Regions from separate parts of the Homo sapiens genome. Here all the other regions are linked to region 2. The links are contacts of gene promoters, found by promoter capture Hi-C in human tissues and cell types (Jung and others, 2019). All regions are on one chromosome and are shown on one strand. Each heading gives the region's core, a stretch centred on a gene start or on the middle of the fragment in contact. The rest is flanking DNA. Distances are from core to core; before and after follow the strand shown.

Region 1 (6,305 bases), core at 1,218-3,717, 250 kb after region 2:
AAAAAAGTTAAGATATTATAGCCATTATATTGTAGCAGCCATGATATTATAGCTCAGTAAATGCTGCTTTCCAAATATTGGCTAATTTAACCATAGCATGTCTTCAATGTTAGAAGCCAGCCCTCATTTTTATCAAGGGCTGAAGTTTGATAATTCTTTGTGTTATTTGCTTGTGAAAATAAGTAGAACAAAAAGGATTAGGGACCTAACCTTGTATCCCATGTATCCCAGTGAACCTTTTCTGACTTAAAGCTTCCTTTCTTTTTTTTTGGAGATGGGAGTCTTGCTCTGTCGCGAGGCTAGAGTGCAGTGGCGCGATCTTGGCTCACTGCAGCCTCCGCCTCCTGGGTTCAAGTGATTCTCCTGCCTCAGCCTCCCAAGTAATTGGGACTACAGGCTCATGCCACCATGCCCAGCTAATTTTTTTTTTAATTTTTAGTAGAGACGGGGCTTCACCATGTTGGCCAGTATGGTCTCGATCTCTTGACCTCGTGATCCATCCACCTTGGCCTCCCAAAAAGCTTCCATTCTTAGTCTTGGTACTTCTAAGTGGCATTGGGTCAATAGCTTTCTGCCTAAGAAGAGAATTGGCTGGGCATGATGGCTAACACCTGTAATTCCAGCCCTTTGGGAGGCTGTGGCAGGAGGATCATTTGAGCCCAGGAGTTCAAGACCAGCCGGGGCATCATAGGAAGACCCCATGTCTGCATAAAATAAAATAAATTAGCCAGACTTGGTGACATGCACGTATTGTCCCAGCTTGTCAGGAAGCTGAGGTGGGATGATTGCTTGAGCTCAGGAGATCAAGGCTACAATGAGCTATGATCATACAACACCAGTGCACTCTAGCCTGAGTGACAGAGCAAGACCCTGTCTCAAAAAAAGCAGGGGGGCATAGTCACCTCCCTAAAATATTAGTTGAACAGTATGTATTCAGAAGTCCAGAGGCTCTGTATTTTATTAATATTTTCAAGGCACTATTTCTGCAGAAATCAAGTCAGCAAGACTCTTTGAGGACGTTACAGGCAGAGGGGCTAAAGATACCTTTGAGGAAGCTCAAGTACTTGGGTGGGAGGTGATAGATAAAGGGTCAGTAGAAATAATGTCTCTTTTTATTTTTTTTCCCATTAAAAAATTTTGTTTTAATAGCAATGGAGATGGGGTCTCACTGTGTTCCCTGAGCTGGTCTGGTCTCGAGCTCCTGGGTTCAAGCAGTTCTCCCACCTTGACCTTCTAAAGTGTAGGGATTATAGACATGAGCCACCATGCGTGGCAAATTTCTTTTCTTTCCTTTTTTTTTTTTTTTTTTTGAGACAGAGTTTTGCTCTTGTTGCCCAGGCTGGAGTGTGGTGGCACGATCTTGGTTCACTGCACCCTCCACCTCCCAGGTTCAGGTGATTCTCTTGCCTCAGCCTCCTGAGTAGCTGGGATTACAGGCGCCCGCCACCATGCCCGGGTAATTTTTGTATTTTTAGTAGAGATGGGATTTCACCATGTTGGCCAGGCTGGTCTTGAACTCCTGACCTCAGGTGATCCACCCGCCTCAGCCTCCCAAAGTGCTGGGATTACAGGTGTGAGCCACCGCTGCCGGTTCCAATGTCTCTTTTGGATGGTGGATCCTGAAGAATAGCTGCTGGTTCTTTGGGGATGCCTGGGGAATACTGTGCAGGCTTTGTGATGGGCTCAGCAGTGAGGCCTGTACAGTATCTTAGGTCTTGTGGGCCTCAGTCTGCTCTCTTGGCTGTTCTCTACCACCTCCTGCCATTAAGTTTTTAAGAAAAAGGAATAGTTTTATTATATTCTTTGGTAAACAAAGCAAATTAAGAAGCTTTATATTTTCCACATTTATTTACCAAACTCCCTATTTGTTTTTCTCTATAGTGATTCAGTTTAGAGACCTATTCAATGAAGCATGCCTTGATGTTGAATTTAGAGTCTACTTTTTCCAGAAGAAAAGAGCCAGGGAGCTCCAATAGTAGTCATCTCAGAATATAAAAGTGTTATAGAAATGATGTAAATCAGGCCGGGTACAGGGGCTCACGCCTGTAATCCCAGCACTTTGGGAGGCCGAGGCGGGCGGATCATGAGGTCCGGAGATCGAGAACATCCTGGCTAACAGGGTGAAACCCCGTCTCTACTAAAAATACAAAAAAAATCAGCCAGGTGTGGTGGCCGGCACCTGTAGTCCCAACTACTCAGGAGGCTGAGACAGGAGAATGGCGTGAACCCAGGAGGAAGAGCTTGCAGTGAGCCGAGATCGCGCCACTGCACTCCAGCCTAGGCAACAGAGCAAGACTCCGTCCCCAAAAAAAGAAGAAAAAGAAGAAAAGAAATGATGTAAATCAGCTGCCCTTCACTCTGTGTTGAGGTGGGGGATGTCCCTAATTGCAGTAGGAGAGAGCCTCTCTTTTATCTGGGACTAAAAGCCCTTGCCCTACATACCTCATAATTATTTTAGGGTTAACTGATTCAATTGTCAGAAAAGAACAAGCTGTATCTTGTTTCTGTACATATTCTACTTTGTGAGTATTTTTATTTCATTGCTATGTGATTGGAATCAACTCAGGAAAGAGGAAAAAAATAAGATAGAGGTTATAGAATTCTGAATTCTGAAGGGAATTCTGAGAATTATCAGTAAAATATGTCAAAATGTGATATTTTACTTCCACCAAGAATTAGGCCATATCTTTGTGTGAAAATAAATTATTATTATTTATTTATTTATTTTGAGATGGAGTCTCGCTCTTTTCACCCAGGCTGGAGTGCAATCACACAATCTCGGCTCGCTGCAACCTCCACCTCCCAGGTTCAAGCGATGCTCCTGCCTCAGCCTCCCGAGTAGCTGGGATTAGAAGCGCCCATTACCACACCCAGCTAATTTTGTACTTGTAGTAGAGACAGGGTTTCACCATGTTGGCCAGGCTGGTCTCGAACTCCTGACCTCAGGTGATCCACCCCCCCCCCCCCCACCCTTGGTCTCCCAAAGTGCTGGGATTACAGGCATGGGCCACCGCACCCAGCATACGGAAATAAATTATTAACCAGAGAAATTTTGACTAAGGTTTTTATAAATGTTAGGTGAACCATTGCTCTAAAAGATACAAAATTATAACAAGCTGAAAAGTTTTTTAAAAATCTGCATTTTAGTGGTTCAGTTTTTCAGTTGTTCTGAGTGCTAATAGTTGGAGTTTATAAATTGTAAGAAGCAATCTACGGAGATTCTGTGATGAAGGAATTTGTTGAATGCCCTGTCTGCCTCACAGTCTCAGTCTTTATGATAGAGTCTTGTCTTCTCACAAGGAGAGAAAAGATTTGAGGCTCTTTTGATTACTTACTTACTTGCTTATTTATATATTTTGCCTCTTTGTTTTTGCCGCAAATACAAATGTAATGGAACCTTAGAATAGGAGAGACGTGTGGATCCCCTGGTAGGCACTGTTCTTTCTATGTTCCTGGAGCCAAGTTCATGGAATTACCTCCAAGACTACGGATCCCTGGTTTTCTTTCATCATGATAGGAGGCATTTTCTAGAACCTGAATCTTACTTTAAAATGCATGTAAGACCTGCAAGGAGTGGTAGTGAAGTGGGTGGAATATATTCTTAGCACCAGACACCTTTAAAATATTTAAGTTCTCGGCCGGGTGCCCTGGCTCACGCCTGTAATCCCAACACTTTGGGAGGCCGAGGTGGGCAGCTCACGAGGTCAGGAGACCGAGACCATCCTGGCTAACACGGTGAAACCCCATCTCTACTAAAAATACAAAAAATTAGCCAGGCGTGGTGATGGGTGCCTGTAGTCCCAGCTACTCGGGAGGCTGAGGCAGGAAAATTGCATGAACCCGGGAGGCAGAGCTTGCAGTGAGCTGAGATCGCACCACTGCACTCCAGCCTGGGTGACAGAGCAAGGCTCCTTCTCAAAAAAAAAAAAAAAAAAAAAAAAAAATATATATATATATATATATATACACACACACACACACACACACACGTGTGTATATATATACACACACACATGCATATATATATACACACACATGTATATCTATAGATATATACATATATATGTGTATATTTACATTTTCTTATGTCAGGGTCTGGCTTGGAGTGTATTGTGTTCCCAGAGCAGAATTCTTTTTTTTTTTTTTGAGATTGGGTCTTACTTTGTCACCCAGGCTGGAATGCAATGGCGTGAGCTTGGCTCACTGCAGCCTCGACCTCACAGGTTCAAGCAACCCTCCCACCTCAGCCCCTGGAGTAGTTAGGATAACAGGCGCACACTACCATTTTGTATTTTTTGTAGAGGCGGGGTTTTATCACATTGCCCAGGCTGGTCTCGAACTCCTGAGCTCAAGCAATCCACCTGCCTTGACCTCCCCAAATGCTGGGGTTACAGGCGTGAGCCACTGTGCCCAGCCGCAGAGTTCATCTTGAGACCCTGACTTCTGCCAGCTCTGATCCTAGTGGGTGGGGCTCTGGGGCTCAGTGAAACAGTCAGCCGTTTTGCTTCAGAGAACACAAATAAGATTTTGGCTTGATGCTGGTTGTTGCTGGCGTCATATAGTCTAAAACGTTTGCTGTCAAGAACATTTTAGTAAAAGTTTTTGTTGTGCTTTCATCTAGTCAAGAAAAGATAGGAAGTGGCAGCTGACAGGGCAGTGTCTTCATGCCCCTCAACCTTACATTGGACACTGAAGTAGGATTGTGTTTTCACTGGAAGTCCCAGTGGGGCCTTATCTCCTGGATGCTCAAAGTGCAGCTCAGATCCTGTTGGGTAAAAAGTCTAGTCAAAATGGAGGACATGGAGAAGGCCAACAGGCAGAGCTATAGAGCTGACATAGGGCATTCTTTGTACTTCCCTTAGCCACTGTACTTTCTTTCTTCCTCCATCTCCTCCTTCCCTCTTCTATCTCATTTTGGTTTGGCCTTTGGGAATAGTGGGTTTTAAAAAATATTTGAACTATAACATATCCTTGTACCATAAAGAATGAGCCTGACTGCTTTACAAAGGATTTCTATAAAAAGTAATCTTTTATACTAAGAGAAATGACACATCTGTTTTAAACCTGTTACTTTTCTTCCCCGGGCTTTGCTCTTTCTGCAGGTCCGTTTGACATGGTTCTTGAAACTCCTGGTAGCAGCCATTTACTAGTAGCACTCTTTATCTTAGACACAGCACCTAAAGCAATTGTAGGTGTTTTAAGAACAGAAAGCCCATCTTAAGCAGACCAGTTTGAGGGATTGGCAGTGCTGTCAAGAAACAAGGGCTTTGTGGCAGTCTCTCTAAAAACTCCCTATGAGTCCATTTCTTGCAAACTTCTTTAGACTCTACTGTATCTTTTCATCAGAAGCTACCTCTTTGATGTGGGAAGTGTCATGAATGGACTGACTCTCTGGAATTTAAAAACAAAGACAATATGGCAAAAAGAAAACCTGACTTTTAGTACTGTATGTGTTGCTAATTAGCTCTGTATTCTTGGGCAGACTACTCCATGTATCCCAGCCATCCATATGCCCTATTTGTAAGGATCTAATGAGATGATATTGTGAAGAATGCCTTTGTAAACTGTAAATTGCTTTGTGAATAAAGATACTATCTCTGATAAACAGTACCAGTTCTCAGCCACCAATAACCTGATACTCCCATACTGTGTTTGGAAGAAACACAAAACAATGAAGAGTAATTGTGACTTTTCAATGTGAGTTGTATTCACAAAGCTCATATACTTTTTCCCTGCCTTTTGATACTGTTTATCGCTTTCTGTGTTGTAATGGGAAGATCACACAGCAATCATTTTCTCAGTACAAAGTATAACTACAACTGAGCTTGCATTGAAGATCTTTAACAAAGATGCAAAGCTGCTGTCCAGAAATGTTTTCTTTCCATTTTCTCTTGTACCTCCCAGTATTTTAAGAATCCTTGAGGCTGGGCACCATAACTCACGCCTGTAATCTCAACACTTTGGGAAGCTGAGGCAGGAGGATCACTTGGGCCCAGGAGTTTGAGACCAGCCTGGGCAACATAGTGAGACCCCCATCTCTACAAAAAAATTTAAAAATTAGCTGGGCATGGTGGTGTGCACCTGTGGTCTCAGCTACTTAGGGAGGCTGAGGTAGGAGGATTGCTTGAGCCTGGGAGGTCAAGGCTGCAGTCAGTCATGATTGCACCACTGTGCTCTATCTAGCCTCCAACCTGGGCAACAGAAGCGAGACCCTGTCTTTTTTTTAAAAAAAAAAGACTATCCTTGATGATTGGTTTTGAGCCAACGGAATGGGAGCATATGGTAGAGTTTCAACACTCTGACCC
Region 2 (6,451 bases), core at 3,560-6,059:
GCCTGTAGCAGTTCCTGATTTCAGTGCAGGATCTCCGTAGTCTGTACAGTGTGAAAAACTCCTGAAATTGGCCAGGCAAGGTGACTCACATTCATAATCCAGCACTTTGGGAGGCCGAGGTGGGAGGATCACTCAAACCCAGGAGTTAGAGACCAGCCTGGGCAACAAACAAGACATCATGTCCATTAAAAAAAAAAATTAAAATTAAAAATTAGCTGAGCACAGTTGTGCCCACCTGTAGTTCCAGCTACTCTGGAGGCTGAGGCAGGAGAATCACCTGAGCCCAGGAATTCGAGGCTGCAGTGAGCTATGATCATGCCACTGCACTCCAGCTGGGCAACAGAGTAAGACCTGTCTCAAAAAAAAATTAAGTAAATAAAAATACTAAAGTTTACAGATAAATTATGCAAAGATAAAGAACAGTGGATGGAAAGTCTGCTTTTTCTTTTTTTTTTTGAGACGGAGTCTAGCTCTGTCGCCCAGGCTGGAGTGCAGTGGCGCAATCTCGGCTCACTGCAACCTCCACCTCCCAGGTTCAAGTGATTCTCCTGCCTCAGCCTCCTGAGTAGCTGGGATTACAGGTGCACGCCACCACACCTGGCTAATCTTTGTATTTTTAGTAGAGACGGTTTTTCACCATGTTGGTCAGGCTGGTATGGAACTCCTGACCTCGTGACCCGCCCACCTTGGCCTCCCACAGTGCTGGGATTACAGGCTTGAGCCACCGCGCCCGGCCTGGAGGGTCTACTATTATAACAACAGTCTGACACATTTGCACTTAAAAATGCCCATCACAAGCCAGGCACAGTGGCTCATGCCTGCACTTTAGGAACCCGAGGCAGGAGGATCATTTGCACCCACGAGTTTGAGACTAGCCTGAGCAACATAGTGAGACCCCCATCTCTACAAAAAAATTAAGACAAAGAAAATTAGCCAGGCATGGTGGCGCATGTGTGTAGTCCTAGCTACTTTGGAAGCTGAGGCAAGAAGATCACTTGAGCCCAGGAGTTGGAGGCTGCAGTGAGCTACAATTGTGTCACTACACTCCAGCCTAGGAGGTTTTTAAGAGACTGTCTCTTAAAAAAGGCCAGGCGTGGCCAGGTGTGGTGGCTCACACCTGTAATCCCAGCACTTTGGGAGGCCAAGGTGGGTGGATCACTTGAGGTCAGGAGTTTGAGACCAGCCTGGCCAACATGGCAAAACCCCGGCTCTACTAAAAAAAAAAAAAAAAAAAAAAATTAGCCAGGCGTGCTGGCGCACTCCTGTAGTCCCAGCTACTCGGGAGGCTGAGGCAGGAGTATCACTTGAACCCAGGAGGCGGAAGTTGCAGTGAGACAAGATCATGCCACTGCATTCCAGCCTGGGCGACAGAGTGAGACTCTGTCTCAAAAAAAAAAAAAGGCCAGGCATGGTGGCTCATGCCTGTAATCCTAGCATTTTGGGAGGCCAAGACAGGAGGATCACTTGAGACTAGGAGTTCAAGCCCAGTCTGGGCAACTGAGACCCCATCTCTACATAAGTAATTTTTAAAAATGCAAATGACAGCCAGTGTGGTGTCTCACCCCTGTAATCCCAGGCCAAGGCTGAGGCAGGTGGATCACCTGTCAGGAGTGACCAGCCTGGCCAACATGGTGAAACCCTGTCTCAGAAAAAAAAAAAAAGCAGGGGCTTGGGACAATTTTGAAAAGCTAATATTTTTGCTGGGTGCAGTAGCTCTCGCCTGTAATCCCAGCACTTTGGGAGGCCGAGGTAGACGGATCATGAGGTCAGGAGATCGAGACCATCCTGGCTAACACGGTGAAACCCCGTCTCTCCTAAAAATACAAAAAAATTGGCCGGGCATGGTGGCAGGTGCCTATAGTCCCAGCTATTTGGGAAGCTGAGGCAGGAGAATGGCGTGAACCCAGGAGGTGGAGCTTGCAGTAAGCCAAGACCATGCCACTGCACTCCAGCCAGCGCAACCGAGCGAGATTCCGTCTCAAAAAAAAAAAAAAAGAAAGAAAGAAAAGCTAATATTTTAATATCCCCCTCCTTTCAAGAACTGCCCAAGGAACTGGTCTTACCAAGATTATAATGAACTAAAGATTCAAAAAATGGCCCTGAAGGACAATGAAATAAATAACTAAAGACTACTCAACTTCTCCCTTGCCTCACAAGTGCAGTATAAACTCAGTCGAACAGCAACAAGCTGCCAGCGTCCTCTGGGTTCAGCACCTGCTTTCCTAAAGGATCTCCTGACCAAGGAGCTGGTTTCTTTCAAAATTATTATTTTATTTATTATTTATTTATTTATTTATTTTTGGAGACTGAGTCTCACTCTGTCACCCAGGCTGGAGTGCAGTGGCGCGATCTCAGCTCACTGCAACCTCCGCTTTCCGGGTTCAGGTGATTCTCCTGCCTCAGCCTCCATGCACCACCACGCCCAGCTAATTTTTGTATTTTTAGTAGACATGGGATTTTGCCATTTTGGATAGGCTAATCTCTTAACTACTGACCTCAGGTGATCCGCCCGCCTCAGCCTCCCAAAGTGCTGGGATTACAGACATGAGCTACCGCACCTGGCCTCTTTCAAAATTATACATTCAGAGGTGACAAGATCCTGATAGAAGTGCACAAAGTAGGCTAGGCGCGTGACCAGGCACAGTGGCTCACGCCTGTAATCCCAGCACTTTGGGAGGCCAAGGCAGGCGGATCAGGAGGTCAGGAGTTCGAGATCAGCCTGAACAACATGGTGAAACCAGGTCTCTACTAAAAATACAGAAATTAGCCGGGCATGGTGGCACGCACCTGTAATCCCAGCTACTTGGGAGGCTGGGGCAGGAGACTTGCTTGAACCCAGGAGGCAGAGGTTGCAGTCAGCTGAGATTGTGCCATTGCACTCCAGCCTGGGTGAGAGAACGAGACTTCGTCTCAGAAAAAAAAAAAAAAAGTAGGCTTGGCGCGGTGGCTCATGCCTGTAATCCCAACAATTTGGGAGGCGGAGGCGGGTTGATCATGAGGTCAGGAGTTCGAGACCAGTCTGGCCAACATAGTGAAACCCCGTCTCTACTAAAAATACAAAAATTAGCCAGGTGTGGTGGCACGTGCCTGTAGTCCCAGCTACTCGGGAGGCTGAGGCAGGAAAATTGCTTGAACCAGGGAGTCAGAGGTTGCAGTGAGCCGAGATGGCACCACTGTACTCCAGCCTGGCAACGGAGCAAGACTCCATCTCAAAAAAACAAAACAAAACAAAACAAAACAAAAAGTGCACAAAGTATTGTCGCTTGACTTCTTAGTCATCTCATGCAGGCATATTCTATGACCACATACAAGAAGACTGTACAAAGAACCAAAGAGGCCACAGGTCAAGAGAAATGTGTTTTGGAGCAATGAGAACTCTTCCTAGACCTGCACACTCTACTGAGGATCTCCAACTTGCCCAAATTCACAGGAAAGGGGCTTGAAGGTGTTTTCACTGAGCAAGATAATTTTAGTACTGTTAAAAGTTAATTTGCGCCGGGCATAGTGGCTCACACTTGTAACCCCAGCACTTTGGGAGGCCAAGGGGGGTGGATCACGAGGTCAGGAGTTCGAGACCAGCCTGGCCAACATGGTGAAACCCCGTCTCTATTAAAAATACAAAAATTAGCCGGGCATGGTGGCGCGTGTCTGTAGTCCTACCTACTCGGGAGGCTGAGGCAGGATAATCGCTTGAACCCGGGAGGTGGAGGCTGTGGTGAGCCGAGATCGCGCCACTGCACTCCGGCCTGGGCAACAGAGCGAGAGACTCTGTCTCAAAAGAAAAAAAAGAAAAAAAACAGTTAATTTGCCAGTTCCATATCATCCACAACAAAAACAAGTTTCTTTTTCCGATTCTAAGACACTCCTACGTTTCCTTTGTCTCCTATGGCGAGCATCCCTTTAGGAGATAAAATCAAGTCATCACCATAATACTCACTTTCTCCTAAAGCAAAAAGAGGAAGACATTACCACTCTCCAAAAAGTGGTGGTGAAGAACCAAAGAAATTATGTTCCAAAATAAAACTCAGCCATTATGGACATTTAACCAGGTTCTTTGCGAGGAAAACGGTGAGCTTCGAGGTACACGTGAGGTTCCGAACGGGTCTCAGGAAGCAGCAGCCAGGCAGAGGGTCCCCCTTGCCATAATCATAGGGCCGTGACACCGGCCTGCCTGGCTCGCGGGGGCTTTGGCTTGCTTCGTCTAGTCTTAGCATCCAGCGTCCTGAAAATCACTCGCAGGAACGCTATCTAAGAAAGAGGTAAGTCTATTTCTCAGCCAGGAGCAACATAACTCCCAGGAGAGCATCAGGGTGGCACCGGACACACTTTAGCGCTCCGGATCAGCGGAGTCCAGAGCTTCGGTCAGAGAAGCTGGTTTCCCGCTACTAGCCGGCCAACCCTCAGGCACTGGCGCTCTCCGTCCTCCACACCGGCTGTCCCCCCGGCTTCGGTGCCAGCATCTGGGAGGCTCGGCGGGCGGCCGGTCAGGACGCTCGAGCGATGTTCCAGTGATGGCCCCACCGGAGCCCCGACCCCACACGCGCCCACTCCAACCCCGCGCCCGCCACCGCCCTCCCCGCGGGCGTCAGGCCGGTCTATCGGCCCGGCTCCTGTCACTCACCTGCCCGGCCCGGGCACCGAGCGCCCACGGCTCCCTACGGGAGCTGGGCCCCCCGGGCCTCCAGGTTTCGGCCCGCCCCCTGGCAGGCAGCACAGGTGGCTGAGCACCGCTACAGCGGCCTCTCACCGGCCGCTTGGTCCAGCTCCCGGCGCTGCCCACTGGGTACGGATCAACAACAAGATGGCGGCTAGCCGAGGGGGCGGGGGCCGGGCGTCATAGTAACCAGGACTGCAAAGAACCCGCCCCCGAGGGGGTGCTATCCCCAATCAACAGTCTTTTTGCTCGTCGCCAGGGGAAGTGCTTCCTGCTGACAGGTCAGCTCACGTGTCAGTCAGAGTCTGCCTCTCAGGGCCTCTGCCGAAAGCGTGGGGCACGTGACTGTGACGGCATGGGTTGGCGCATGCGCTTCGTTCCCGGAGTGGCTGGCGGCGGAGTTTTCGCTGGCTACTACGAGGCCGGAGCGCCCTTGGCCTCTCTGCGTCCCTGGCCCTCGTGCGGTACCGGCGGCGTCTTGTCATACACTTGCGCACACACAGGGAATCTCAGCGGTGTGCTATTCGTTTTTTTGTCCCCCACTCTGGGAGAAGGGGGGTGCAGCCCCCAGTTCACTCTGGAGAGGAAACTGAGGCTCAGAGAGGGGAGGCCGAGCCAAGGTCACGCCACCTCTAGAAATGGAGGTGCTGGGTCTCGCACCTCCTCCTGCTGGTTTCAGAGTGTGAGGAGCCTCTATCCCAGCTTCCCACGCTTTGTCCCTTACTAGCCTCGAGGTACCGCAGTCTGTGCTGCCACAGCAGCCTCTGGCTCATTGCCCATGCTTTCCTGCCTGAGGTTTAGAGCCTAGCACAAGTCCTGACACACAGCGGGCACTCCCTTTTCTCTTCCCTAGAGCATCTTGTCTTGAGATCCTGTGACAGCATCTTTTGCCCTGGACTGTCATGACCGGCCTCCCAAGCAGACTAATGGTCCCAGGAAGATGGTCACACCTTGCTCCCCATACAGAACACCTAACTCTGGGCTTGGCTTCAGGCTTAGAACAACAGATGAAGTTACGTGGCCTGGGCCCACACCCAAATGCCCCAACTAGCTAACTCTGACTTTTGAGCCTTAGCCTCTCTTTAGCTTTGGTTGTCCCATCTGTAAAATGAAGATAAAAGTGGAGCTTCTCAGAGGAAGATTTAATGAGCCCTCAGAGCAGGGGAAGAACTCAGGAAAAATCTGCCTACAACCACTTCCTGGAACAACCTGCTTCCAAGTTGCTGTTCCTGAGGCGTGCCTTAAAACACTAACTTTGGTGGAAGCCCCATGAAGCGTTTTTGTTTTGCTTTGTTTTGTTCCCACAGAAGGCTTTCAGCTTCTTCCTGGCCCTGGGATACCATAACTGGTTCAGAAGGGGAGGTCCTCCTAGCTAGGCGCAGTGGCTCATGCCTGTAATCCAGCACTTTGGGAGGCCAAAGAAGGTGGATCACTTGAGGTCAGAGGTTCGAGACCAGCCTGGCCAAAATGGTGAAACCCTGTCCCTACTAAAAATACAAAAATTAGCTGGACGTGATGGCAGGTGCCTGTAATCCCAGCTACTCAGGAGGTTGAGGCAGGAGGATCACTTGAACCTGGGAGGCAGAGGTTCAGTGAGCTGAGATCACGCCACCACACTCTAGCCTGGGTGACAGAGCAAAATTCTGTCTCAAAAAAAAAAAAGGGAGGTTCTCCAGTACCCTGAGGGGGTTCAGGCCCACAGACTCAACAGACGAGTAAAGACTGTGATAACTTGGATTTACCACAGTAAGGTCCTCTTGGAGAGCTGGCAGAAGCCTGAGACCTGATGTCAGGTTG
Region 3 (7,164 bases), core at 4,064-6,563, 220 kb after region 2:
TATGGAGATGACATGCTCTAAATGCTTTGGGAGCAAGCACTCATTAGAGAAGACTTTTGATGTATCCTTATCTTGTTAGTAGTTTAAGCTTGTCAGATCCTTAAAGAATGACAGGCTTAGGACCATATCCCCTAGACTTAAGAGGATTCTCATTGACCATTTGTTCAGTGTCCATCACTGAATCACTTACCAAATACAGTTGACACTCTGTATCCACAGGTTCCACACCCATAGATTCAACCAAATGCTGATTGGACATATTCAGGAAAAAAATGCATTAACACTGCAACAATAAAAAATAATACAGGCCAGGAGTGGTGGCTTACTCTGTAATCCCAACATTTTGGGAGGCCCGGGTGGGAGGATTGCTTGAGGCCAGGAGTTTGAGACCAGCCTGGGCAACACAGGGAGACCCCATCTCTACAAAAAATAAAAGTGAAAAAATTAGCCAAGTGTGGTGGCTATCAACTTGGGAGGCTAAGATGAGAGGATTACTTGAGTCTGGATTGAGACTGCAGTGAGCTGTGATCACTCTGCTGCACTCTAGCCTGGGGTGACAGAGTGAGACCCCGTCTCAAAAAACAAAAAAGTACAGTTAACTATTTATATAGTCTTTATTAGGTATTAGATATAAGTAATCTAGAGATGGTTTAAAGTATGTTGGAGGATGTGTGTAGGTTGTATGCAAATACCATGTGATTTTATATAAGGGACTTGAGCATCCTGAGATTTTTGTGTCCTTGTGGGTCCTGGAACCAATCCCCTGTGGACACCAAGGGACAACTGTACTAACCATGTGTCAGAAACTGCTACATGCCAATTTTGGAGAGAAGAAAAAAGCTTCCAATCTGTGTGCTTTCGGTGGATCCTATTCTGACAGTCTGTCCAATTTTGAGAACACTCATTAATTCATAAGCAGTGAATGTGATTAAGTCGTTCGCCTCTGTGCTAAATACTCAATGTAATAGCTGATAGCTGAGTGCTATAAAGAAAATGAAGCAGGGTATTGGGAGAATGCATCATGGTGGCAATTTTAGAGGGGTGGTCAGGGAAACTTCTTGAGGAGTGACATACATTTAAGTTGTGACTCTTGGCGAATAATGTATCCAGAACACTTACTATAGTACCTAGCACTTGGTAGCATTTGAATTAATTTGAAATTCAGTGTCCTTCTTTCTCTCTCTTACCCTCCTCCACATGTCAAGTAATTTCCAATTATAAATTTTGTGTGTGTGTGTGAGACGGAGTCCAGCCAGGCTGGAGTGCAGTGGCGTAATCTTGGCTCACTGCAACCTCCGCCACCCGGGTTCCAGAGATCCTCCTGTCTCAGCCTCCCAGGTAGCTGGGACTACAGATATGCGCCACCATGCTTGGGTAAATTTTTTTTCTTTTTTTTTTTTTTTGAGATGGAGTCTCGCTCTGTTGCCCAGGCTGGAGTGCGGTGGCACGATCTCAGCTCATTGCAACCTCTACCTCCTGGGTTCAAGTGATTCTCCTGCCTCAGCCTCCCAAATAGCTGGGATTACAGGTGCCCGCCACCACACCTGGCTAATTTTTGTATTTTTAGTAGAGATGGGGTTTCACCATGTTTGCCAGGCTGGTCTGGAACTCCTGACCTCAGGTGATCCGACTGCCTTGGCCTCCCAAAGTGCTGGGACTGCAGGCGTGAGCCACCATGTCCTGCCAATTTTTGTATTATTAGTAGAGATGGGGTTTCACTATGTTGGCCAGGCTGGTCTTGAACTGCAGACCTTAGGTGATCTGCCCACCTTGGCCTCCCAAAGTGCTGGGATGACACGCACGAGTCACCGTGCCTGGCCTTCAATTATAATTATAAGAAAATAAATTTATTTTTATATCTGAAGTTTAATAAAACTAATTCTTTAAGGAAATGGATGTGGATTAAACTCCTTATGACATAGTAAACAATCTTATGAGAGACATAAGAATGTGAGGGAAGAAGTCCTGTCTCCTCAGGGTGAATAAAGTAAATATTTTGGGAGGCTGAGGCGAGCGGATCATGAGGTCAGGAGAGCAAGACCATCCTGACCAACAAGGTGAAACCCCGTCTCTACTAAAATACAAAAAAATTAGCCAGGTGTGGTGGCGCACGCCTGTAGTCCCAGCTACTTGGGAGGCTGGGGCAGGATAATTGCTTGAACCCAGGAGGTGGAGGTTGCAGTGAGCCAAGATTGCACCACTGCACTCCAGCCTGCTGACAGAGCAAGACTCTGTCTCAAGAAAACAATAAAATTGAATAAATAAATAAATAAATAAAATAAATATTTGTGGAAGATAAAATGTGTTTGTAGGCCGGGCACTATGGCTCAAGCTTATAATCCCACCACTTTGGGAGACCAAGGCTGGAGGATCACTTGAGCCCAGGAGTTTGAAATGAGCATGGGGTAAATAGTGAGACCCTGTCTAAATTTAAAAAAAAAAAAAAAAAAAAAAAAGTCTTTGTCTATCCTTTCCCCCAGTTTTACTTACAGACCAAATTGGTATGGATTCTGAGTCACCACGATCTGCTTGGCAACTCTTAGTAGAGCCTGAGTGTGTGTGTGCCTCTGAGAAGGTTACTCCGAAGTACTTTGAGTTTTTTTGTAACTCTTTGCTATTCCGACTCTTGATGTGAAATGTCTTTTATTTATCATTGGCTGGTACTTGTAGGCCTAGGGGATGGAAATAAAGGAATTTTCTGCTAGCTTGCTTTGTCAAATATTGTTGGGTATGTGTGCCTTCGTGAAGTTGCTCAAGATGATAACCAAGGTCCCTCTAGCCTTTTCCTGGTGCCTAGATCAAGCTGTTAAACAGTAGGATGCTCTGCAGCAGTACTGAGCTTTGTGGCTGTGGTGACCGATCAGGGTATCACTTAGGCAGCAGCTGTCTATCTGGAGAAATAATTTCCAACAGGTATGAAGGTATGAATCTGTTAGTCTGTACCATCACCATTTCTGTCTAGGAGAAGGGGGCAGCCAGCAAGCACTGTCAGGCAGAGCCTTTCGTTCCACCCTTCCTGCAAAGTGTATTTCTAGCCCTGTCATATGCCCTTGGCTTTCTTTGTTGTCAAGTCTCTGGGAGATTGAGGGTACATATTATTTCCTTCTGCTTTGTGTGCCCTTGCACTGGGACTTGGGGAGGGGAGTAAGAAGTATTGTGTTAAAATGTTAATCCCTTTCATTGGTTGCCCAGTTGTGAGTACTAGCCCTCTCAGACTGTTGGCATTTGGTATGCAGGGATTAGCATTTTATGTTCTCAAGTATGCTGGTGTGATGCTTATTGTCTATTATTTGGCCAAATTAGTCACTAAAGTGCCCTTATAGAAGATAACTCTGGGAGAGGTATTTATTTCTCTGAAATTTTTATTCTCCTTTCCCCTTTCCTTTCCTTTCCTTTTTCTTTTTCTTTTTTTCTTTCCTTTTTCTCCCCTCCCCCCCCTCCCCTCTCCTCTTATTGGAGACAAGGTCTCCCTCTGTCACCTACGCTGGAGTGTAGTGGTACAATCATGGCTCACTGCGGCCTCGATCTCTTGTGCCGAAGTGATCCTCCCAACTCAGTTCTCTTTAGTAGCTGGAACTACCACCACCACAGCTGGCTATTTTTTTTTTTTTTTTTTTGTAGAGGCAGGGTTTTGCAACATTCCCCAGGCTGGTCTTGAACTCCTGGACTCAAGCAATTTACCTATCTCGGCCTCCCAAAGCACTGGGATTCCAGGTGTGAGCCACTATGCCTGGCCTATTTTTAAATTTTTATTTTTTTGAGACTTAGGGTTCTGTTCTGTTGCTCAGGCTGGAGTACAGTGGTACGATGAGAGCTCATTGCAGCTTTGAACTCCTGGGCTTAAGCAATCCTCTCACCTCAGCCTTCTGAGTAGCTGGACTACAGGCACCTGCCACCATGTTCGGCTAATTAAAAAAATAACAAACTCTGTTCGTAAAGATGGGGTCTTGCTGTGTTGCTCAGGCTGCTCTTGAACTCCTTGCCTCAAGTGAGCCTCCCACCTGGACCTGCCAAATTGCTGGGATTATAAGCATGAGCCACTGCGCCCAGCCTTACTCACCTTTTTGTATGACACTATCAGTCTTTCTAAAGTGCAAAGAAAAAGGGTTCTGTTATCATCTGATGTGAAAATTCCTTTAAACATTGACTTTTTCTGGTGTGAGGAATGAAAGCTGTGGAATACGTGAAGTTTTATGAAATAGTGTTTTTTTGTGTGTGTGTCAACAAAATTAAGAGAGTTTGGGTTATTGAAGATACAAGAGTGTTTTTGAAGGTATATATAGGAAACCAAATCTCAAATGTGGTCTGTCCTTGTGATTAAAATTAGAGCAATAGGGAAGCCAGGTGTGATGGCTCACACCTGTAATTCCAGCACTTTTGCAGGCTGTGACAGGAGGATCACTTGAGCCCAGGAGTTGAGTCCAGCCTGGGTAACATAGCAAGACCTCATCTCTACAAAACATTGTTAAAAATTAGCTGGGTGTAGTGGCACATGCCTATTGTCCCAGCTATTTGGAAGGCTAAAGTGGGAGGATTGCTTGAGCCTGGGAGGTCAAAGCTACAGTGAGCCGTGATTGTGCCACTGCACTGCAACCTGGGCGACAGAGAGATCCTGCCTCAAAAAAAAAAAAAAAAGCAACAGAGAAAGCTTATGTTTTTAGTGATGAGAATGCTATTTGTGAGGCCATGATGGAAAAAATTGAAGAACCTAGTTTGTTGGAAACTTAAATTGGTAGTAAAGACATAATACTATCTGAAACACTTTAGTACTTAAATTGTGTGCATTCCAAGCAACAAAACCAATAATCTGTAGGTTGAAGGTTGTAGTGTTACCTAAACAACTATCACCCCAAAAACACTTCATTGAGGAGTATCCAGCATCCTAGCCAGAGCTCAACTGTATAACTTATGGCTGGAATCATGCCATTCTTGCTGGAAACTTCAATTTCAGTACTTTTTCCTTATCACCCTCAGAAGGGTAGTAGTAGAAACATGGGGAACTGCATTCTAAAATGAGTGTATAGGTTCATAACCTAGCTAGAAAAAAAAATTAAAACAATTAATGAGTACAAACCAAGGGTTATTGAAGAGTCTCGCTCTCAAGAGAGTTGGGGTATTCAAGAAAATTGAAAGTGAGTTTAAGGATCGATGACTTGATTACACATTTTGGCTATTTATCCACTGATTGAGACTTTTTTTTTTGAGATGGAGTCTCACTGGTTCGCCCAGGCTGTAGCGCAGGGGTGCGATTTATCCACTGATTGAGACTTTTTTTTTTTTTTTTTTCAGATGGAGTCTCGCTGTGTCGCCCAGGCTGTAGCACAGAGGTGCTCACTGCAACCTCCGCCTCCTGGGTTCAAGTGATTCTCCTGCCTTAGCCTCCCGAGTAACTGGGATTACAAGCATGTGCCACCACGCCTGGCTAATTTTTGTATTTTCAGTAGAAATGGGGTTTCACCATGTTGGCCAGGCTGGTCTTGAACTCCTCACCTCAGGTGATCCGCCCGCCTCGGCCTCCCAGAGTGCTGGGATTACACATGTGAGCCACTGTGCCCAGCCCAGTGATTGAGACTCGACTGGACATGAAGCAGTATAATGTAGCAGTATAACATAGTATTCTGGAAGCAGACTACCGGGGGTTGCATTTCGGCTCCATCACTTTCTAAGGTGTACTTGAACAAGTGGCTTAACCTCTCTGTGTTTTAACGTACTCTCACACACATCTAGGGATTAAATAAGTTAATGCATGTAAGGTGATTAGAACTGGGGCTGGTGGCCGGGTGCGGTGGCTCATGCCTGTAATCCTAGCAAGTTGGGAGGCCAAGACGGGCGGATCACGAGGTCAGGAGATGGAGACCATCCTGGCTAACATGGTGAAACCCCGTCTCTACTAAAAATACAAAAAAATTAGCTGGGCGTGGTGGCGGGCGCCTGTAGTCCCAGCTACTTGGGAGGCTGAGGCAGGAGAATGGCGTGAACTGGGAGGCGGAGCTTGCAGTGAGCCGAGATCGCACCACTGCACTCCAGCCTGGGCGACAGAGTGAGACTCCATCTCAAAAAAAAAAAAAAAGAACTGGGGCTGGCACAAAGTGAATGTTGAGTGCATCTTTGTTGTTTTCACACAACTTCTCATCTGAAACAAAGTCTTAAGTTACAGCAGCTCTGGTCTTGGCTTAATGGAGTATATGGCAAAAAGAGGATTTGGTGGCAGTGCCTAGGAGGATTTTTTTTTTTCCCATCAACAATACTTCTCATTTAGCCTGTTGATTGATACGGATTATCAGGGGACTCCTTCCAGCTTCCCTAGTTGGAGTTTTTTTTTTTTTTTTTCCTTTTTTGAGACAGGGTCTCATTCTGTCTCCTAGGCTGGAGTGCAGTGGTGCGATCTCGGCTCACTGCAACCTCCGTTTTTGGGGCTCAAGCCACTCTCATGCCTCAGCCTCCCAAGTAGCTGTGGCTACAGACACGTGCCTGGCTAATTTTGTATTTTTGTAGAGACGGGGTTTTGCCATATTGCCCAGGCTGATCTCGAACTCCTGAGGTCAAAGCGATCTGCCTACCTCAGCCTCCCAAAGTGCTGGATTACAGGAGTGAGCTACCATGTCCGGCCCTTAGTAGGAGTTTCTGCTGCCTTAGCCTTCAAGAGAGAATCTTAAATTTTCTTTTTTTTTTTTGAGACAGAGTCTGGCTCTGTCGCCCAGGTTGGAGTGCGGTGGCGTGATCTCGGCTCACTGCATGCTCCGCCTCCCGGGTTCACACCATTCTCTCGCCTCAGCCTCCTGAGTAGCTGGGACTACAGGCGCCTGCCACCACACCCGGCTAATTTTTTTGTATTTTTAGTAGAGACGGGGTTTCACCATGTTAGCCAGGATGGTCTCGATCTCCTGACCTCGTGATCCACCCGCCTCGGCCTCCCAAAGTGCTGGGATTACAGGCGTGAGCCACCTCTCCCGGCCATAAGAATCTTAAATTTTCTAAAGAGAAAGAGCAGGAGACAGACAGTACCACATGGAGTATGTTTAGGCCATGTAGGAAATCTAGCCTGTGGCTTTAAAACCGTAAGTTCTAAATTAGCTGGGTATGGTGGTGCACACCTGTAGTCCTAGCTACTCTGGAGGCTGAGGTAGGAGGATCACTTGTGCCCAGGAGTTCAAGGTTGCAGTG
Region 4 (6,671 bases), core at 3,648-6,147, 230 kb before region 2:
AGGGAGGTGCTTCCAGCTCCATGTGGGTCTGCTGATATATGTTGCCCTGGCTTTTCTGTGTGGAAGCACATAAACTGAGGACGCATAATTTTTTATTCTTTGGCTGCCCGACTGTGCCTCTTGTGTGTTTATTTCCTCAGAAGTCATTTCTTAGACAACTAACAGTAATGAAAGGCTGTTAGTAGCTTGAAACCTGCGGCAGACAGGTCAGCCTGTGAGCATCCTTTTTAGAGGTGGGATTTGTCCATTTTATACTAGCTATAATAGTAATGCAGTTGGATAGCACACAGCTCTTAGCACTGCAAACACTGTCCATTTTGCTGCATGTTGAGTTGCTGTTTGGGTTTTAGCTTGAGGGAGGCTCACCCAGGCTTTAGTGTTCTCCTTCCAAGGGAAAGCTTCTGTAGCTGAATGGAAAAACACCTTGTTATTGAGAGTTCCCTGTATGGGGAATTTGTCATTTCTCTTCTGATAACCAAACAGGCTGCTCTGCTTGTAGTTTATCAGATGTTGCAGAGCCAATCATATGAAATTCTGGAAAGACCTGGGCAGCTCAGAGGGACCGGAAGGAGGCTGATGTCTATTGCTCATATGCCTTTTTAGTGTTTCATTTGTACTTCATCTGTACATTCTGCTGCAGGCAGACCCATGAACTGCTGTGGGTGAGGCGAACCACGGACTCCTGATGGATTTAGTAGTCACACAATCTCTTACCTGGCTGTGGGCAAGGCTCATACCTGAGCCTGTGGTGCTGAGGTCCTGTGACTATCAGACTCAGGAGGTGAGCTGGCTATTTGTCCCCAAAGCTCAGAACCAGAGACCATTAGGAGGTGGGATTTACTCCTCCAGCTGATATTCATTTTATCATAGCACCTCAGCTGAGCAGCAGCTCCATGGCTTATCTCTCCTTTAGTATTGCAATGGCTTCTACTTCCTCTCACTAGAGCATCTCAGATACCTGATGCCAAATTTAGCATGTTCTAAGATGCTGCTGAACAGATTGGCCCATTGATGGGGAAAAAGCCCTGTGAATGTGCTTCTGGGCATTCAGGAAAGAGCATTAGCACAAAGACATATTTGCTTTCAGTAAGATTTTGAATTTCGGGGCAGTCAGAAACCTCATAGAGGTGGGTAGAAGGCCAGGTAAAAGGGAGATGATTCTGGGGGAGTTAAATGCTATTGCCATATTACCTTGTCATCCCAGGCTGAATTAGTCTTTTCATCCTCATACTGAGCTGAGTTGGACTCTGTGAGGGGGTGGCTCCAGCATTTGCTGCTGAAGAGCCTGACTTGAATCCCATGAGTAGCAGTGCTGCCACACCCATAGTGGTGCCTCTTAGCCCGTCGGGATGATGTGGAGCTTTGGGCATTGGAGAGTCCCTCAAGGAAGGGCTCTCTGCTTCTGGTGTCAGGGTGGCCATGTACAATTATATAATCTGTGCCTTTTCCAAGGAGTGCTGGTTTGGGAGAAAGCTGAACTCTAACCCAGGCTCCACTCTCCAAGCTGTGTGCCCTGGTGTAGGCTGCATCCTCTTAGATGAAGGGGCATCATTCACTCGTTAATTCATTTACTTATTTATGGAGATATGCCTAATGTACAGTGGAACACACATATTGATGGGATTTTATTTATACATACACTCGTGACACACTACCAGATCAAGACAGAACTTTATCAGTACCCCAGAAAGTACTTTTTAAAATAATTACACGAAGGAGCCATGTAGACCAGTGGCAGCCTGTCTAGTTTACACCAGCTCTGTGGACTTGCACCTGTCAGTTTTTTTTTTTTTTTTTTTTGAGTTGGAGTCTCGCTCTGTCGCCCAGGCTGGAGTGCAGTGGCACGATCTCCGCTCACTGCAAGCTCCACCTTCTGGGTTCACGCCATTCTCCTGCCTCAGCCTCCCGAGTAGCTGGGACTGCAGGCGCCCACCACCGCACCCAGCTAATTTTTTGTACTTTTAGTAGAGATGGGATTTCACCGTGGTCTCGATCTCCTAACCTTGTGATCTACCTGCCTCGGCCTCCCAAAGTGCTGGGATTACAGGCGGGAGCCACTGCACCCGGCCCAACTTGCACATGTTTTGATGTTTGCAAATTGATATCTAGTCGATCAGCTAAGGTGTATTTGTCAGCTGTCAAGAGCAAGCACAGTTATTGGCTTTGTGGATGGTATGGAAAGGATATATAGTGCTTCCCTGTCCTTCAGCACCTCACAGACTGGTTGGTCAGATAGCTCTTGAAGAGCCAAATCATGGAAGAACCCTAAGAGAGACACTGTGGGCAGCTCAGTATCTGAGAAATGTCAAATAAGCAGTGCTTACAGGGTTGTTAATTGGGAAGAGTGGAGAGGCACAGCTAAGCTTTAGGAGAGGTAGAGATGTAAGGCTGGAAAAATGACTGGGTTAAGAGAGGTAGAGATAGAGATAAATGGCATAAAGAATGTGGTCTACACAGGCAGGGACAGTGAGCAGAGAATGAGGCTGAGTGCAGGGTGGTGGGGGAAAGCCAGGGCAAAGCCAACAGAGGCCCTTCTCCATCATTGCCCATCAGAATGCGTAATCAATGCCAAAGTCGCCTCTCTTCACTCCTGGCCCATATGTTATTGAGACAGACACCCTAAGCCAAAGGCAGCTAGGCACAGAGAACCTGGTTGTTTACTGGAAGGTGGGCAAGGCTGCTCTGAGAACCATACCCCGAATTCCTTTTTCAAAATGGATTTGTCAGGCATAGTATCTCTGGTCTGGGATTAGTCAGACTTGTTACATTATATCAGCCAACTCAGCCTCTAGAAAAATCTGGCACTAACTTGTAAAGATAAAATGAAAGGACATAATTGCCAGGTCTGGAAATAATGCTCCTTTGTCACTTAGAGATCTTCTTTGTCCCCAGTGGCTGGATCTCACAGAGGGTATGTCATGGAGTGTGAATTAAAGTGACCTTACATCTGAATGGTGACGATGTCAAAATTTTACCCAGAGGGCAACCATTTTTGCATTTCTCCAGGGAAAGCAGGCTACTTTTGATAATACAGTTGCTCACAGCATCATTAAGACTAATAAGGTGCTGTTGATTTAAAAAATGTAAAAATGTAATGGAGACATTAGGAGGAGAAATACTGTCTTTTGTTTGTTTGTTTTTTGTTTTTTGAGACAGAGTCTTGCTCTGTCGCCCAGGCTGGAGTGCAGTGGCGCGATCTCGGGTCACTGCAACCTCTGCCTCCCGGGTTCAAGCGATTCTCCTGCCTCAGCCTCCTGAGTAGCTGGTATTACAGGCACCCACCACCAGACCCAGCTAATTTTTGTATTTTTAGTAGAGACGGGGTTTCACCATGTTGGCCAGGCTGGTCTCAAACTCCTGAGCTCAGGTGATCTGCCCGCCTCAGCCTCCCAAAGTGCTGGGATTACAGGCATGAGCCACTGTGCCTGGCCGAGAAATGCTATCTTAAACATTTTTTTTTTACTATGGAAAATTTCAAACATACATGAAAGTAGAGGAAATGGTCTAATGAACTTTTGTGTTCCCATTGCTTAGCCACTGCCATCATCAACTTATGGCCAATTGAGTTTAATTTATCTCTCTCACATCCTACCCCCTAGAGAAGCAAATTCCAGACATCCCAAAATTTCATCATCAGTATTTCAGTTTGTATTTCCAAGAAATAAGGGCTTTGCATGAACATAACCACAGCACCACAGCCACATCTAAATAAGATAATGATCTCTTCTTAAACTCAGCAAATATTCAGTCAGGATTCTACTTTTCTGATTGTCTTATGAATTTACTTTTATTATTGGTTTGAATTGTGATCTAAACAGGGTCTACACATTGAATTTGTCTGATGCATCTGTCTAGTTTCTTTATGTATTTTCTCTCCTTTTTGCTCCTTGCAGTTTATTATTAGAGAACTATGACATTTGTCCTGTGGTTTCTCATATTCAGGATTATGCTGATTGCATCCCTGTGGTGTCATTTAAGATGTTCCTCTGTCCCATGTTTTTCTTGTAAACTGAGAATTCTGTCTAGAAGCTAATCAGATTCAAATTTTATTCTTTTGGTCAAGAAATTCTAGCTTTTTAAAAAAGAGTTTATTGAAGGCTTCAGACATGGAGAGGCTGAGAGTTCACTGAAAGCAGAACCAGGGTTTGGGCTAATTGGGAGCCAAAGAACAATGCAGTGGACCACTTTTCTGTTCCTTTTCTAAAGATCTCCTTCCTCTGAGTCAGTTTGGTTCTGAGTTTAAGAAGTCAAAGCTTTCAGAGGAAAGTTGTTTTTTTTTTCCCCCAGAAAAGTCATGCCTTTCACCCCAGTGTGGGGGAGCCCTCCCTGCATATGTGAGTAGGAAGCCTCCTACTCACATTTGGGGGCTTAATAAATCTTTCCCCTTATCACAGGTCCTGCATTTCTGAATTGGGCCCTTTCCTCTTGTTAGTTGTGGGGGTGTGGAAGGCCAGACCTACTATGTGTGGGCTATGTGAGGGGAACCTGTTGCTGGAGCCTGTGGGCCATGTGCAGTAAGTTGGGGCTAACTGTGAAGGTAGGTTGGCAACACTGTAATAGCAGTTATGACTACCATTACTGAATGACTGCCTCATCACAGACATTCTGCTAGGTGTTTTATTTCTTATTCCACCTGCTTGGCCATTCAGCTTCTGCAGGCCCTGCCTGTCCTGACTTTACTTACTGCCTGGGGACTGACTTTTTAAATGGTAAAATGGTGGCTAAGCCCTGCATGCCTACAGCAAGGGCTGACTGTCACTTTAGGACATGAGGCCCTCTGGGTAAGCTGGGACTTGGTGAACAATCTAGCTGTGGGGGACTCCTGCTCAGTCCTTTCATTTGGTGCCAGGAGCATGTCATGCTGGTATTGATCCTGCATTTGTAGCACTTGCCCGAGCTCCTTTTCTGGAGGGACCTCTGCCATCTCCTCTCACTAGCACAGTGGTTGAAGCTGTGGAGTGAATTGGGACACTGGCCTGTGGGCTCCTGCCTGTGGTAGGGGTGATAGAATTTTGGTGTCTCACTCTCTGTGGTTCCTTCTGTACAGATCGGGCTTCTAGTGGGGGTCTGTTGCCCCCTAGCATTCTCTTGGCCCATTTGTCTTATATTTTAGGTTCTGGTCAGCTCTGCTGTGGAATGGGATACTCCCTGACACATCTGTGTTGTGCCTTGGGCTCCCAGGCTGGCCACAGGGCTGCTGTGATCTCTCCTTCCTATTATTCGTCTTTACGGGCACATAGGGTTCTAAAGAGAGCTTTGCTCTAGCAGAGACCTGGGGCCCCTACTTCTTTCTAACAAGAGGGTCACATGGAGGCACATGGGAAGCCTCCAGGGAGCTCTAGATCACCCCAGGATCAGATCAAATCTTGAATGGCCTGGAGAGGCCTGGTTGCCCCTAAAGTGGGTGAGGCTGCTGTCAGGGCCAACGGTGAAGAAGAGATTTTCCCTGAGGGGAAATAGAAGGGATGGCTTTTGGATCTTGGTCCCAAACACTGAGGAGATCCAAGAGCCTCAGCAGCAAGGATCACCCCACCCAGTCCTATCTGGGACTAACCCCTGTATCCAGAGGAGCCCGAGCTCTTCAATGCCACTGGCTTGTGTGGGGAGCCAAACCTCCCAAAGATGCTGGAAGAACCATTAAGGCATTTGGGTTCTTGGGAGAAAGGGTAGGTGAGGAAATTTCCTAATAGTTACACTGTTACATTTGTGTTTGCAGGCAGGTAACAAGGGTCACTCCCATTAAAAAAATTTTTTTAATTAATTATTTAAATTGACAAAAATTATGCACTATATATTTATTATATACAACCTGATGTTTTGAAATATGTACATATTATGACATATTATGGAATGGCTAAGTCAAGTGAATTAACATAGTCATGACTTAACATACTTACCATTTTTGTGGTGAGGATGCTTAAAATCTATTAGCAGAAATTTACAAGAATGCAATACATTGGTGTTAGCTATAGTCACCGTGTTGTACAGTAGATCTCTTGTTGTTGTTATTTTTTCTTTTCTTTTTTTTTTGAGACAAAGTCTCACTCTGTCGCCCAGGCTGGAGTGCAGTGGCGTGATCTCAGCTCACTGCAACCTCTGCCTCTTGGGATCAAGTGATTCTCATGTCTCAGCCTCCCGAGTAGCTGGGATTACAAGTGTGTGCCACCATGCCCGTCTAATTTTTGCATCTTTAGTAGAGACTGGGTTTCACCATGTTAGCCAGGCTGGTCTTGAACTCCTGGCCTCAAGTGATCCATCTGCCTCAGCCTCCCAAAGTGCTGAGATTGCAGGTGTGAGCCAGCCACCATGCCCAGCCTAGATCTCTTGAATTTATTCCTCCTATCTAACTGAAACATCTCCTCAACCTTCCCTTCTACCTCCTACTGTGTCACCTACACTTTTTTGTGTATGGGAGTGTTTGTGGGGATTTTTACAGTTAGATTCTACATAGAAATGGAACAATTTTAAAGTGAAATTTTATCCATGTATTCAGGAAACTCTGCTGAACATCTTTTGGATACCTATCCCTGGGTGAAGTGTGAGGAATAAAAGAAGGAGCATAAAATAGGCTCTGCCCTAAAGGGGCCCATGGTGTGGGGAGAGAGAACTCTTGTCCAGATCTTTAGCCTCAACTTCTTCTTCCTTAAATTAGAGTTTGCTCCTGCCTTCTC

The links. Contacts are between HindIII fragments. The study calls those that stand out against the background at their distance.
Region 1: a fragment that was not itself captured here is called in contact with the fragment with the promoter of IP6K1 in region 2 in 2 of the 25 tissues and cell types used here (IMR-90 fibroblasts and lymphoblastoid cells).
Region 3: a contact is called between a fragment that was not itself captured here and the fragment with the promoter of IP6K1 in region 2, in 1 of the 25 tissues and cell types used here (lymphoblastoid cells).
Region 4: a fragment that was not itself captured here is called in contact with the fragment with the promoter of IP6K1 in region 2 in 2 of the 25 tissues and cell types used here (dorsolateral prefrontal cortex and thymus).

What each region holds. Positions count from the first base shown.
Region 1 is chr3:50,036,529-50,042,833 of GRCh38, forward strand. The region is part of intron 6 of RBM6 (RNA binding motif protein 6); the gene reads left to right. Among named protein-coding and RNA genes, the nearest start is that of RBM5, 49 kb to the right of the region's middle. The HindIII fragment of the contact is 5,977 bases long and covers 1-5,456 here.
Region 2 is chr3:49,781,733-49,788,183 of GRCh38, forward strand. IP6K1 (inositol hexakisphosphate kinase 1) reads right to left here and starts at 4,810. Exons shown (of 6, transcript NM_153273.4): 1 at 4,622-4,810. RefSeq lists silencers at 4,424-4,773, 5,509-5,673 and enhancers at 4,488-5,177, 5,264-5,333. The HindIII fragment of the contact is 27,523 bases long and covers 1,186-6,451 here.
Region 3 is chr3:50,000,877-50,008,040 of GRCh38, forward strand. The region is part of intron 6 of RBM6 (RNA binding motif protein 6); the gene reads left to right. Among named protein-coding and RNA genes, the nearest start is that of RBM6, 64 kb to the left of the region's middle. The HindIII fragment of the contact is 3,646 bases long and covers 3,491-7,136 here.
Region 4 is chr3:49,555,796-49,562,466 of GRCh38, forward strand. The region is part of intron 1 of BSN (bassoon presynaptic cytomatrix protein); the gene reads left to right. Among named protein-coding and RNA genes, the nearest start is that of BSN, 4.7 kb to the left of the region's middle. The HindIII fragment of the contact is 7,034 bases long and covers 1,381-6,671 here.